Regions from separate parts of the Homo sapiens genome. Here regions 2 and 3 are each linked to region 1. The links are contacts of gene promoters, found by promoter capture Hi-C in blood cells and fetal thymus (Javierre and others, 2016). All regions are on one chromosome and are shown on one strand. Each heading gives the region's core, a stretch centred on a gene start or on the middle of the fragment in contact. The rest is flanking DNA. Distances are from core to core; before and after follow the strand shown.

Region 1 (4,650 bases), core at 325-2,824:
TCTCCAGGCTCCTCCCAGCCTCCAACTTAATCCGCAAGTGGCTCTGGCAGCTTCTTCAAACCAGGGGCCTTCCATCGCAGTAAACGGCTCCACTGACCCTCTGGGCCTGCCCTTGCCCGCTCCCCTCCCACCTGGCTCCAGCAAATCATCGGGCGGGGCCTTCAGAGCCACTGGGCCACCGGAGCAAGTCTGCTCCTTGTCCAGGTACCCAACACCCTGCCACCCTTATCTGAGTATGATCTTGGACACCTGTGCACCCTGAACGTGGTAGGGGGGACACTCCCCATCTCTCTTCTCCCCCCGAACTTCTCTGGGACTCTGGCGAGGGCTGCCATGGTGGGCGCTTATGCCCTGGTTATGAGGCTGAAAGGGCACCTTTGCTTGGCATCCTTCCCTGCCTGCTCTTCCCACCCCCTTCCTGGGTTCTCTTGGGCGCACCCCCTTGTAAAATCACCTGCACACACAATGCCTACCTCAGGCTCCGCTTCTGGGGACCCCCCCCCCAACAAAAGACATCAGCCCATCCATCCCCAACGCCAACAGATAGTCCCCAACCACCTTCCCTGGGCTCAGAACTGGCCCCAGCCAGGGGACACCGCGCGTAGGCACCTGCAGCCTCGCATGCTTCAGCCAAATTCCGTGGCTTTCCCGCCTCCCGTGTGCCCCACACTCGGGGTCTAAATTTGCACCTGCTGGGCCTCTTCCCTGCAACCCGCCCGCACATCGCCAGGCTCTTCCAGGAATCCCCACCTGCCCGCTGGGAGCCTGTCCCCTAAGATGGGGGCCCTGGGTGACTGCGCTGCTCTCTGTAAATATTCACGTTCTGGCTGAATGGACGGGGATAACATGAGGCTGCTAAGGAGGCGACTAGGAGGACCTGGCTCGGGGGCTGGCTCTGCGACCTCGGGCCAAGTCCTCTTGAGCTGCACGATTTTGAAAATCATGAACTGCAAGGGGAAACTCAGCACCTGCAAAAAGGCATCACAGAAGGCGAAGCCGGCCAGAAGGACTCGCGCCGCATGCAGCGCGCTGCCTAGCGCCGGACCGAAGCCCGGACCCTCCAGCCCACCTTGTCCGATCCATCCCACCCAAGAAGGCATCGCGCACTACAACTCCCAGCAAGCCCCGGGCCCCTGCGCCGGCGCTGCGGGTAGGGAGCCGCGCGCGGCATGCTGGGAGTTGAAGTCCATCGCTGCCCCACCCGCCCAAGCCGGCCCACTGCGCACCTCTGGGAGTGGTGGGCCAGGCGAAGGTGCCATAGCGCGCGGCCCAGGCGCTGCTGCTGCAGCAGGAGCTGGCCCGGGGGCTCCCCGGCGCCGCCGTTTACAGGCGAGCGCAGGCCCATGTTCTCGAAGTAGTGAGCCAGGAAGGCGATCGGCTCCTCGGGCCGCGCCTCCAGCACCTTCAGCAGGGCCGCACGTAGCATTTCCGTCACGCCGACCTGCCGCAGGAAGTCCTCCTCGCTCTCGGCCGCCCCCGCCGCCCGGGATACCGACTGGCGGCCGCTGTCCGTGAAACCGGCCGGCGGTGGTACCGCTTGCCGCCGCTTCTCCACTGCCGCCATCTTCGCTGAGGGCAGCGGGACCGGAAGCACCGCCATATTCCACTGTGCGCTAGAGCCCCCCCAAGGCGGCCATCTTGATTAAGGGCAGAGGGCACCGGTATCCCGCTGGGAGACTTTGGGAAGTGACAAGGGTACGCTACCACTTTCCTTGTGTCCTTATTGGCACTCTCTCTTCTCCTCCCTCTTTGTGTATATTGATTGGCTCTCCTGGCTTTGGCCTCGGTCCTGAATTTTGCCAGACTCCAAAATGGCTGCCTCGGAAGTGCTTCGTTTCTGGCACAAAGCCGGATTGCTTGCCATTTGGGTAGTGAGCGAGTCCTTCATTAGCATGGTCTCCTAGCAACCAGTCTCCCTGGTTAGCAGAGAAGCCTGACGGAGCATGCGCGGGGCTGGACCTGCCCAGGACTGCTGGACCCAGCCCCGCGCCCGGCCCCCAGACCCTTTTCTCATGTTCATCTCTGAGCCTTGGTGCTGGGGGTCGAGCTCAGCCTGGCCTTCCGCCTAACTCAGTCAACGTCTGAGTGCGTAGCTCACCTCGTGGGAGAAGCCCCCTCCCCAGCTCCGCTGCAGCTGCGCTGAGCCCCTATTGGCGGCCACACGGGCGAGCATCCCGCGCTGTTACCCCCTGACCGCCAGAGGGAGCTTTCTGACACCGCAGCCTCCAGAGCTGTAAACTCTGCCATGGCTCTCCAGGGCCCCCGGGCTGGCACCTCCAGGCCTTCATCGCCTGACCTCGCTTCCGGCCGCCCTCCCGGCCCTCCCAACCCTCCGCAGCCCGCAGCCACCTCAAAACACAAGCAGTCTCCTCCATAAGCCGCCTCTGGGTGTGTTTCCCCAGGCGACCTCTGTGGATCTTCCCTCACTGCTTTCGGGGACTCCTGGTTAAGCTTCTCACCGAGGAAACCACTAAGCCCTCGCGTTTCCCCGCCCCGGGCAGAGCTTGCTGGGTGCCGTCCCCGTCCCTCAGGGGCGTTGCCCCGGGCAGGGGGCAATGAGAGCTGTTTGCCGGGGGACCGTTCCACCATCCTCCCAGCACAGGAATCTCTGGCGGGCAGACCAAATGCCCTTTGTAAAACGTGAAGTAGAGGTTCCTCTTCAAATGAGACTTTCCTCCCCATCTAATTAGGAATAAATAGTAACTTCTCTTAGAAGCAAAATGTATTCAAAGGCCTGTGGTAGGCCGGGCGCGGTGGCTCACGCCTGTCATCCCAGCACTTTGGGAGGCCGAGGCGGGCGGATCACGAGGTCAGGAGATCGAGACCATCCCGGCTAACACGGTGAAACCCCGTCTCTACTAAAAATACAAAAAATTAGCCAGGCGTGGTGGCGGGCGCCTGTAGTCCCAGCTACTCGGGAGGCTGAGGCAGGAGAATGGCGTGAACCCGGGAGGCGGAGCTTGCAAGTGAGCCGAGATCGCGCCACTGCACTCCAGCCTGGGCGACAGAGCGAGACTCTGTCTCAAAAAACAAACAAACAAAAGACCTGTGCTAACATTCTTTGTTAATTAATTGTTAATGTTATATTGAATATATATAATGTAATAAGGAAATCAACATACTTTATGTTCTTAGTGCCCACAATGTAGGCTAAATATCTGCCCTGGCATGCTTATACTGGTCCAAGCAAGCATTAGGTCATAACCTGTTCCTCTTCCTTATTTGAAGGTGTTTTTACCTTTCTTAGCATTCCACAAGCTACTTCTTCCTTCCTTTGTTCTCCTCTGCCTTTGCCTCTTTTTAAAAGTTCCAAGCTGCTAGCCGATCGGGATAAATACAGAATGTGAGGTCCCGTTCCAGCCAATGGAAACCGTCCCGTTCCAGCCAATGGAAACCGGACAGAGCAGTAGGGTGGACGCGTCAGGTTATAAATGACCCTGTCTCCTTTGTTCTGGATACTCTCGTGGCAAAACTGCTGGCCAGTGTACCCTTTCTGCAGAAAGTAAAACAGTGGCCTTGCTGAGGAAATGACATTTATATTCAAGTGCTATTTCTTTACGGCACCGGGGAACAAGCATTTCTAACACTTTCTTCTCCAGCCCCGGACTGTGGGATGAGGGAGATGGAGCCATCAGGGCAGGACCCACAGTCAACCCTCTGCTGTCCGGAGCCCTCAGACCTCTCCTCTCCACGGAGTGGGTGTCAACTGAGAAAACTGACACGTTTGTATCATTTTAGGAGGTTTATTTGCCAAAGCCTCAGGAGGTCCTGACGACAGGGGCCCAGGGTGGTCAGGGCACAGCTTGGTCTTACGCATTTTTAGGGAGACGTGAGACATGAATCAATGTATGTAAAAAGTACGTGGTTCCGTCCAGAAAGGTGGGGACCACTCAGGGAGGGGCTTCAGGTCATGGGTAGGTGAGACAAACAGTGGCCTTCTTTTGAGTTTCTGATGAGCTTCTCCAAAGAGGCAATCAGAACATGCATCCATCTCTGTGAACAGAGGGATGACTTTGAGTAGAATGGGAGGCAGGTTTGCCCTGACCAGTTCTCAACTTGAAGGGGTCCAAGCTATTTTGCTTTCACAGGGGGAAAGGCTGGCCACTCAGGAGGGGCTGATCCCGACCTGGCCGGTCCCCCTTAACCCAGCCCAGGCCGACACCTGGGGCAGAAGCCTCAGAGAAGCTGGTGGGTGGGTGTCGTCCTCAGCCAGGTGCCGGCAGCGTTTCCAGAGGTGATAGGTGGGCAAGGCCAGGAGCAGCAGTCCCAGCACCGCACTGCTGGTCCACAGAGCCGCGGGCAGCTGGTCACCCGCAGGTTTGGACGCTGGGGAGAGAGTGCAGGAGACCCCGGTCAGAGCCCTCCAGGCCTCTGCAGGCTTGGGAAGGGAGGAGCCCCTCAGAGGCTACACGTGCTTCCAAAGTTACCACGTTCCCTGAAATTTCACAAAGGACTTTACCATGACCCTTTTGAAATGCGCATAGCACCTTAGAGTTTAGAAATGGGCAGTCCAGGCCAGGCGGGGTGGCTCACGCCTGAAATCCCAGCACTTCGGGAGGCCAAAGCGGGTGGATCACGAGGTCAGGAGTTCGAGACCAGCCTGACCATGGTGAAACCCTGTGCCTACTAAAAATACAAAGTTAGCTGGAC
Region 2 (4,650 bases), core at 600-3,099, about 58 Mb before region 1:
CACCAGATGTATTTGTTTTCTATCGTTACTATAACAAATTACCAAAACTCCATAGGTTAAAACAATATCCATTTATTAGCTCACCATTCCATAGGTCAGAAGCCCAAGTAGGTCTTCTGTGGGTCTCATAAAGGCTAAAATCAAGGTGTGGTATGGACTAAGCTGCTATCTGGAGGCTCTGGGGAAGAATTTGCTTCCAAGCTCATTCAGGTTGTGGGCGGAATCTAGCTCCACGCACTTCTAGGGCTAAGGTCTGTTTTCTTTTCTTTCTTTCTTTTTTTTTTTTTTTTTTGAGACTGAGTGTCGCTCTTTCGCCCAGGCCCGACTGCAGTGGCGCTATCTTGGCTCACTGCAAGCTCCGCCTCCCGGGTTCACGCCATTCTCCTGCCTCAGCCTCCTGAGTAGCTGGGACTACAGGCGCCTGCCACCGCGCTCGGCTAATTTTTTTTTGTATTTTTAGTAGAGACGGGGTTTCACCGTGTTAGCCAGGATGGTCTCGATCTCCTGACCTCATGATCCGCCCGCCTCGGCCTCCCACAGTGCTGGGATTACAGGCGTGAGCCACCGCGCCCGGCCTTTTTTTTTTTTTTTTTTTTTTTTTTTTTTTGAGACGGAGTCTCGTTCTGTCGCCCAGGCTGGAGTGCAGTGGCGCGATCTCAGCTCACTTCAAGCTCCGCCTCCCGGGTTCATGCCAGTCTCCTGCCTCAGTCTCCCGAGTAGCTGGGACTACAGGCGCCTGCCACCACGCCCAGCTAATTTTCTGTATTTTTAGTAGAGATGGGGTTTCACTGTGTTAGTCAGGATGGTCTCGATCTCCTGACGTGATCCACCCGCCTTGGCCTCCCAAAGTGCTGGGATTACAGGCATGAGCCACTGCGCCGGGCCATGAGGTCTGTTTTCTTGCTGGCTGTTGTTGCAGCTCTTCTCAGATTCTCAGCATGACACCTGTCCTGTTGCATTTCCTCTCATGGACCTCTCTACCTTCAAAGCCTCTGGAACCCTTCTCCTACTTCAAGTTTCTCCACCTTCCTCTTCTGCCTTTAAGGACCCTTATGATACCTTGGACCTACCAAAATAATCCAGAATCATATCCTATTTTAAGATCAGCTAATGAGTAACCTTAATTATTTCCGCAAAAACCCTTTCACCATGTAGTGTAACTATTCATAGGTGAGATAATCATATTTACAGGTTCTGGGGATTTGGGCACGGAAATCTCGGAGGGGGCCATTTTCGGAATTCTGTCCCCCATACCAGATTGACTTGCAATGTCCCAGAATCTCACAGGGTCTAGCTCAGGGGAGGCCCAGAGCAGGGTGAGGCAGTTGTCTATTCCTGTCTGCGTTGTAGTAGAAGGTGCCAAGGCCGAGATGGGGTCCTTTCCCCAGTCCCACCCACAGCGGGCGGGCCTGGAGCGTCTGCAGTAGTGGTAGCTTGCTTGCACCTCCTGGCGGCCAGGGACCGAGACCTACTTCAGCTCTCACCCGTGTCACAGGAATAAGGCCACTTCCCCGGTTCGCAGTGGGGTTTAAACTGGCCAGAACACGTTGGGCACTTGGGCCGGGAACTGCCTTCCCATTCTGCATCACAGGGAGCTTGCGGATTGATCGCGCAGGCCCGCCACACCCCTGATCTCCTGGGCGACGCCGGAAGAGTGCTCTGGTCCAGACATTCCTCGCGACGCGGCAGCCCTAGCCTCTTCGACTTTGGTTCCGACTAAGAGGAGAGCCGGAGTGCAGACTGGCGGGAGCTGATCGCCATAAAAATACCGGAAACGTGCTTCGGCCTAGGGTTTCCCCTGCGCCGCCGCGACCGCAGGCCTCCGTTCCGCCGGGGTAACGGCCCGGAAGTGCGGCCTTGTAGTCGGTCAGGAGGAAGCGGCCACGGCAGAGCCTGGTGCCTGAAGAGGAGTCGGAGGTGGGGTCGAATGGGCATCCCCCTGCCGCAGGGCGGGCGAGGAGGCTGGGGCGTGCCAGGGGAGGGGCACCTGCGCTCCGCTAGAAGCGCACGCTGAGAACGCGAGGGGGCGCTGCAGGACCGGGGTACGGCGGGGGCCAGAGTGCGGGGTGGCAGCGGCGGGTCAGAGGGGTGCTTTGGGCGTAGGGTGGGGCGCGGGCAATGGAGCAGAGTATGGGAGAACGCGCTCGGAGTAAAGCACACGGCGCGGCGAAGGCGTGGCGGGAGTGTGCGGCGCCGGACCCGGGAAGCTGGCCTGGGCGCCGGGTCTCGAGTGCAGGCCTTTGTTCTGAAGTGTCCAGGCCGGCCTTGCGGCGTCGGGACTGAGGAATGGAGCCCGTCGCGGGGCGGGGCGGGAAAGGAAGGTTCAAGTCTCTCGGGTTGATGCGCAAGTTTCCGTCCCCATCGGCCGGACAGATTAGAATCCTTTCAGGTGCTAGGTGAATACAGATGGGGCGGTGCTGCTTGCTGAGTTAGCCTTTGCGCGGGCACAGGCCTGGCTTTTTTGAGGCATTGCACAGAAGGCTCAGAACAGGGCCAGGGAGCGGGGTGGTGTATCCGGATCCGTAGTCTGGAAAAGCTCCCTCTGGCTGCCGTGTGGGGAACAGAAGGGGAGGCGAGGGGCGCAGAGACACCAGCCAGGTTTCTTCATCCGTCCAGGACAGCGGGAACGGGGCAGTGGAGGTGCTCGAAGTGGTCTGAGGGTCAAATGTGGGGCATGCAAAAAAGGGAGGCGTCTGGCTGAGCAAAGGGACGGCGGATTGGGCATAAGGAGTCGGAGGGGTTGAATCTTGAGACCCCAGTAGAGCCCGAGGGTGTAGGGGCAGCATCAAGCCGAGCCCACCCTGGGGCTTTGTGACTCCAAGGGAGAGACAGGCTGGTGGAGCCTATACGGATGTCAGAGTCCAGAGCTCCTACCCTCCTCCCTTAGACTGGAGGTGTGTGCAGTCTGGGTGCGGGATGAGCCGAGTATCTCATCCCTTGTTTGATAGAAGGGGAAACAGGCCGAAGGATCACGGTTTACCTGCTTGATGGATGGAGTAGCAGAACTCCTCAGATTCCAGAGTCCTCTGAGGACTACCCCCTCCCCTTTCTGGTGCCTGATGTTGGGCCGTGTCCCCGATTACTCCATGGGCAGCTATCCAGTCACACACCCCTGCTCAATCCACACTTCCCCTCTCTGTGCCACACCCACACCCTGGGCCCCACAGGCCCCATCGAGATGGCAAGAAGCTGGGGCTGCAGGAGCCACCTCCCTGCTCGCTATGCTAGGGGCTGCCAGGGAGCATGTACTGGTTTCCCTGGGGCATCTCCCAAGGTACTGCCCAACCTTTTACCCTCAGCCCTTAGTGACTAGGCACACCCAGAACCACCCTGCCCAGGAAGCAGGTCATGCCACCCCACTCCTGCGAGAGCCTCTGTATATACTAGTTAAGGTGACCTGGTTCTGAGGCAGCAATCCTGCCTATGCACAGGGTCTCATACTGGGGGGATGTGGCTAAAGGAAACCAAAAGGAGCTGTCAGCAGGGGTGGAGGAGGAGTGGAAGCTAGCTGGGTAGAGAGCAAGGTCTACTCGGGGTGAGGCAGGTTAGCCAGTTGGGATGGGGGTCCCTGGCCTCTTCTACACACCGGGCTGCCCTCTTGGAGGGGCACATGGGGAGGCTTAGGGTTATTGGAGTTGGGGTGGGGTGGGTGGGTGAGTCAACATAGAGTAGGCCAAGGCCTGAACCTTTTCGGGAGCAGTGATTGAGGCCAACACCCTCTCCTAGGGGTGTGCTAGGGTTTGCAGCGTTAATGGGGGGCTGTAGACGGCCTGGCCAGGTCTGAGGTAGGGGGAGGAGGGAGTGCTGGAGTGTCCTGTGTTGGGAATGGGGACTGTGAAGGGCAGCTGGGGAGGGATGGGTTAGCGCGCCTTGGAGTGTGGTGCACTCGAGCCCTGTCCTGCAACAAGGGGTGAGGGGACAGGGACGTTGGGACAGATGGGGGTCCTCAGTTGACCTCTCCCTGCCCTCCTCTTGTTCTGTGCAGATGGCGGCTGCAGAGGCTGTGCATCACATACACCTGCAGAACTTCTCACGCTCTCTGCTTGAGACCCTCAATGGGCAGAGGCTTGGGGGACACTTCTGTGACGTGACTGTGCGCATTCGTGAAGCTTCGCTGCGTGCCCACCGCTGCGTGCTGGCGGCCGGCTCACCCTTCTTCCAAGACAAGCTGCTGCTCGGCCACTCTGAGATCCGTGTGCCTCCGGTGGTGCCCGCGCAGACAGTGCGACAGCTGGTAGAGTTCCTGTACAGCGGTTCGCTCGTTGTGGCGCAGGGTGAAGCCCTGCAGGTGCTCACGGCCGCGTCAGTGCTTCGCATACAGACAGTTATCGACGAATGCACGCAGATTATCGCCCGCGCTCGAGCCCCGGGCACCTCTGCGCCCACGCCCCTGCCCACCCCTGTGCCCCCGCCACTCGCACCTGCGCAGCTGCGTCACCGCCTGCGCCACCTGCTGGCTGCACGTCCCCCGGGGCACCCCGGTGCTGCACACAGCCGTAAGCAGCGCCAGCCCGCGCGTTTGCAGCTGCCAGCGCCCCCAACACCTGCCAAGGCTGAGGGGCCTGATGCTGACCCCTCACTGTCCGCGGCCCCTGATGACCGAGGTGACGAGGATGACGAGGAAAGTGACGATGAGACCGATGGCGAGGA
Region 3 (4,650 bases), core at 1,169-3,668, about 50 Mb before region 1:
CTTCAACCGGGGAGGTGGAGGTTCCAGTGAGACCGAACTCCAGCCTGGGTGACAGAGCGAGACTCTGTCATCAAAAAAAAAACACAATTCTCCCCTTCAGATGAGGCAAGTGCTCCCCAAGGCCCCGCAGCCTCACCTGGACCAGTTCTCTTCTTTCCTGTATGTCATCTGCCTGGCCCTCACAGACAGCTGAGCTTGAGATCCCTGTCTGCAGTTACCAAATCACATTCTGCCCACATCTCATATACTCTCAGCTCTGGGAGGAAAGAAACGAGGGCCCAGAGGTGGAGCCCAAGGTCATCCAGCCCAGAGTGACTTAAGCCAAACAATTATCAGGCTGAGAGACCTTGGGCCCAAGAGTCTTGCCCTTCCTTCCAGACCATTTACCTTCTCTAAGCCTTAGTTTCCACATGTACCAAATGGAACAAATACAACAGATCTATGGTCCTTTAAATGCTCCAAAAACCAGAACTTGATTTATAAACTGACCGCAAAACTTCACCTGGATTGCCACAGGCCATGTAGGGTCTTAATGTTCTCATAAGTGTGAATATTCACACCTTGCCCCACAGAAACATTTTATGACCAAAAACTGGCCCAGATTCCTCGGGGTGTGGGGGGGTGCTGCCTAATTATAAAATATGCACCCTATTAGCTTTCTAAAATCTGAAAAATTCTGATTCCCGAGATTGCCTTGGTGCCAAGGGGACCTGCACTTATGTCTCAGTGCTGCTGCGGGGATCAGAAGAGGAAATGCAACTCCAGCAGGGCGCCTGGCACACAGAAAGCACTCAAATACTGTAAATGTTAAGTACTTCAACTTCCCGAAGAACTCCCATCCATCGTCCAGCAAGATTCTGCCTAAATTTGCCAACTTCAGGTAACTCATTCCCCTCCTTCCCCAACCAAAACCAAAATAAAACAGAACCACTCCTCTCAGGGCCATCAGGGAGGCCTGGAAACCCCTTTAGCAGTTTTCTTTTCTTTTCTTTTCTTTCTCAGCTCACTGCAACCTCTGCCTCCTGGGTTCAAGCAATCCTCCCACCTCGGCCTCCCAATTAGCTAGGAATACAGGGGCGCACCACCACGCCCGGCTAATTTTTCTATTTTTTTCTTCTTTTGTGGAGACAGGGCTTCACCATCTGGCCCAGGCTAGCCTCGAAATCCTGGGCTCAAGCGATCCGCCCACCTCAGCCTCCCAAGGTGGTTTTCTTCCTTTCTTTTTTTTTTTTTTTTTTTAAGATGTAGTCTCGCTCTGTCACCCAGGCTGGAGTGCAATGGCGCGATCTCGGCTCACTGCAACCTCCAGCTCCTGGGTTCAAGCGATTCTCCTGCCTCAGCCTCCTGAGTAGCTGGGATTACAGGCCCCCGCCACCACGCTCAACTAATTTTTGTATTTTTAGTAGAGACTGGGGGTTCGAGGAACTCCTGGCTGTAAGTGATCCCCCCCGCCAAGGCTTCCCAAAGTGCTGGGATTACAGGCGTGATCTACCGTGCCCAGACCTTGAGCGGTTTTCATAACAGACTGTGAAAGACGGTTCACACCTTCACCCTGACAACCGCCGCCCAAGGCGACGCACCCTTTGCCGAAGTCGCCCCCACTTGCATTCCGTCACCTCTCAGGAAGGACCGAGCCCGCAAGTCCCTCAGCCCCAGCGTCTCCGTACCTCGGGATTGTAGTCGGCCGCGTCAACAGACGCAACCCCAGCCTCAAGGGAGCGGGAGATTCAACTCCCCGCACACGCGCCTCCTCGCAGCGACTTCCTGTGCGCGAGAAGCTTCTCTGAGCGGCTGCACCCAGGATCCTCCGCGGCAGCGCCAGGACTCTATTTCCCAGAGGGCTGTGCGGGCGACTTCTTTCGCCTTCCCATCTCCTCCTGCTTCTTCAGCCTTAGCACTGTGGGAGTAGAGTAGAAAGAGAATCAGGACCAGGCGGCATCAGTTTGTAGTCCAGATTTTTACCTTGTTAAAGAATCATCTAATTAGCTTCTTGCCTTTACTAGAAGTCAGGGAGTGTTAACCTTTTCCGAAGAGCAAGCGGTAGGTTGCCATGGAAACGCGTTGTGACGGGTTTCTGAGAAAACAAGCGGAAGTAAGGGGCGGAGTTGAGGCAGAAGTTTAGGTAATGTGACCTCTGATTGGTGGAGAGGTACCTCACGGTGCATTCCGATTGGTCTGACACTGACACATGCGCAGTAGAACCAGAAGGCGTTCCAAAGCGGCTAGAACGGAGGGGAGGGGGATGAGCAATGAGGGAATAATCCCCATTCCGTCTGGAATCAGAGGGCGGGCCTGCCGCGGAGGCATCTGGGAAACGGAGTTCCCAGGCAGGCGAAGCCCAGGGGCCGTCAGGAAGTCAGCGGCGCCTGCGCGGGCGCCTCAGATTCAGGATGCGCGCGCAGCGCTCTCCGCCCAGCGGAAGTTTTCGCTGGGCAACTGAGAAGGTGAGTCCGGGTAACTGCGGAGGATCCGAGGGTCAGGCTGCAGAAGCCCAGAATCCCACCCCAGTCCCCAAGTACAGAGGTGAGGGGAAGCGAGGCGAACGAGGGGACGTCCCCCGACCCCCTAGCCGCAGCTCGGCCGGGGCGTCCGTGACGTCAGCACGACCGTTTGTGGGAGGCGGAGGCCCCTGCTGTCGGGGTTCGGAATGAGAGCGGCTCCGGGTCGCGGGGTTCACTGGCCTCCTCTTGAGCTTCCCAAGCCACCTTGGGCTCCGTGTTGGGCATGGCTAAGGCGGAGATGGGCGGAACTTGTGGGAAGTTCGACAGCTCCTCCGCTGTGAAACTTGGCGTCTAAGTCATCCCGTGGTTTCTATGGAGGTGCGGCCGAAGGGAGGCTCTGTCGTCGCCTAGGCAATCGCCCCACCTGCGCTGAGGTGGGGTCTGACTTTTAGCCTTTTTGCTGTGCTGTTTCCTGAACTTTCTAGGAGGAACACTATACAGTAGTTGACGCATAGCAGCTGTTCCCTAAACATTTGTTGAATAAGTCAAATAAATTAAGATAAAGACTGGCCTGAGGGTTGGAGTCTTAGGGTTTCAAGTCCTGACCTGGCCATTGCATAGGTGACTTCAGCACATCCAATTTTATTGAGCGTTTACTATATGGAAGGCTCCGTGCAACCGATATTACACTACTATAACCTGGGTTTGAACGGTGCTAGTCTAATAGGCACTGTTCAAGCCCAGGTTATTATAGCAGTGTCTAAAACAAAAATCCTGCCCAGCTAATTCACATTCTCAGGGTGGTTGGGGATGCCAGACACTAAAAAAGAAATGTTAAAGAATATTTACAGGTCTGCAGTCCCTTATCTATAACTTTAAAATCCAAAACGTTCTGAAAACTGAAAGGTCTTTTTCTCTGTTTTGCAACTTACTTGGCAGGCCAACCTCACCTGGCTTTGAACTTGTTTGCTGGCAATACCCACTCTGAACTGATGTGTGACTATTTAGAATTTTTAAAGATTTTGTTGTGCAAATCATATACTTATGGAGAGTTGCCCCTGGATCTCGCCGGTGTTGTAATATGTAATAGGTTCTAAAATCCAAAAAATTTGGCTGGGCACGGTGGCTCCCGCCTGTAGTCCCAGCACTTTAGGAGACCGAGGTGGGCGGATCACCTGGGTTCAGGAGTTCGAGACCAGCCTGGCCAACATGGTGAAACCCCATCTCTACTAAAAATAAAAAAATTAGCCGGGCATGGTGGCATGCGCCTGTAATCCCAGCTACTCGGGAGGTTGAGGCAGGGAGAATCGCTTGAACCCAGGAAGCGGAGGTTGCAAGTGAGCTGAGGTCGTGCCACTGCTCTCCAACCTGGGTGACATAGCAAAACTCTGTCCATCATGCAATACATGGCAGAAGCAAGATCCAAACCCAGGCAGATTATTTCCCAAGTTTATCCTCTTAACCCCTGTACTGATCTGCTTCTAAGTGGCACGTCTTTTTTAGGGACCATCCAGCTAGATAATTCCGGCCCTGAGCTTTGAGTCTCTGGCTGGATGTCTAGATTTGCCTGAGAGATGAATGTGTACTGACACAGCTGGGGACCCCCCCCACCCACCTTCTTGGCACATTTTCTTTTGCAAAGGAGACAATGATTTATTCACTCAGCAGACGTAGACCCAGCATTTGCTCTGTGCCAGGCCTGTTTGAGGCTCTGGGCACACTGTGGCAAACAAGGCAGGGAAAAGTCCCCGCCATCATGAAGCTTACATTCTAGTAAGTCAGAGTATGTCAGGTAGTGACAAGCACTGTGAAGAAAAATAAAGCAAGGTAAGGAGGATAAAACATGCTATTAGTAAAATGGTGTCCAGGGCCAGGCACGGTGGCTCGAGCCTGTAATCCCAGGACTTTGGGAGGCTGAGGGGGATCACCTGAGGTCAGGAGTTTAAGACCAGCCTGGCCAACATGGTGAAACCCCATCTCTACTAAAAATATAAAATTAGCCAGGCGTGGTGACACGCATCTGTAATCCCAACTACATGGGAGGCTGAGGCAGGAGAATCACTTGAACTCGGGAGGCAGAGTTTGCAGTAAGCCGAGATCGTGCCATTGCACTCCAGCCTGGGCGAAAAGAGCCAAACTCCATCTCAAAAAAAAGAAAAGAAAAAACACAGTAAAATCGTGTCCAAGAAGGTCTCTGAGAAGGTGACAT

The links. The method cuts DNA at HindIII sites, captures the fragments that hold promoters and counts their contacts. A CHiCAGO score of 5 or more calls a contact.
Region 2: a contact is called between the fragment with the promoter of ZBTB45 here and the fragment with the promoter of TPGS1 in region 1, in 1 of 17 cell types (M0 macrophages). The highest score is 8.7, in M0 macrophages.
Region 3: the fragment with the promoter of VRK3 here is called in contact with the fragment with the promoter of TPGS1 in region 1 in 1 of 17 cell types (naive CD4 T cells); the score reaches 7.1 in naive CD4 T cells.

Annotation. Positions count from the first base shown.
Region 1 is chr19:504,421-509,070 of GRCh38, reverse strand. It overlaps TPGS1 (tubulin polyglutamylase complex subunit 1), which reads right to left and starts at 1,574. Exons shown (of 2, transcript NM_033513.3): 1 at 1,227-1,574. The coding sequence starts at 1,564. MADCAM1-AS1 (MADCAM1 antisense RNA 1) reads left to right here and starts at 1,182. Exons shown (of 3, transcript XR_936221.4): 1 at 1,182-1,695. MADCAM1 (mucosal vascular addressin cell adhesion molecule 1) reads right to left here. Exons shown (of 5, transcript NM_130760.3): 5 at 3,728-4,326. The coding sequence ends at 4,106. RefSeq lists enhancers at 1,429-1,768, 1,641-2,498 and a silencer at 2,299-2,428. The HindIII fragment of the contact is 8,539 bases long and covers 1-2,453 here.
Region 2 is chr19:58,517,009-58,521,658 of GRCh38, reverse strand. It overlaps ZBTB45 (zinc finger and BTB domain containing 45), which reads left to right and starts at 1,849. Exons shown (of 3, transcript NM_001316979.2): 1 at 1,849-1,917; 2 at 3,986-4,650. The coding sequence starts at 3,986. RefSeq lists enhancers at 1,565-1,884, 2,942-3,602 and a silencer at 1,975-2,074. The HindIII fragment of the contact is 4,202 bases long and covers 1-4,111 here.
Region 3 is chr19:50,023,140-50,027,789 of GRCh38, reverse strand. It overlaps VRK3 (VRK serine/threonine kinase 3), which reads left to right and starts at 2,418. Exons shown (of 15, transcript NM_016440.4): 1 at 2,418-2,523. ZNF473 (zinc finger protein 473) reads right to left here and starts at 1,785. Exons shown (of 5, transcript NM_015428.4): 1 at 1,668-1,785. RefSeq lists enhancers at 1,632-1,681, 2,092-2,141, 2,482-2,561, 2,611-3,112. The HindIII fragment of the contact is 2,425 bases long and covers 1,781-4,205 here.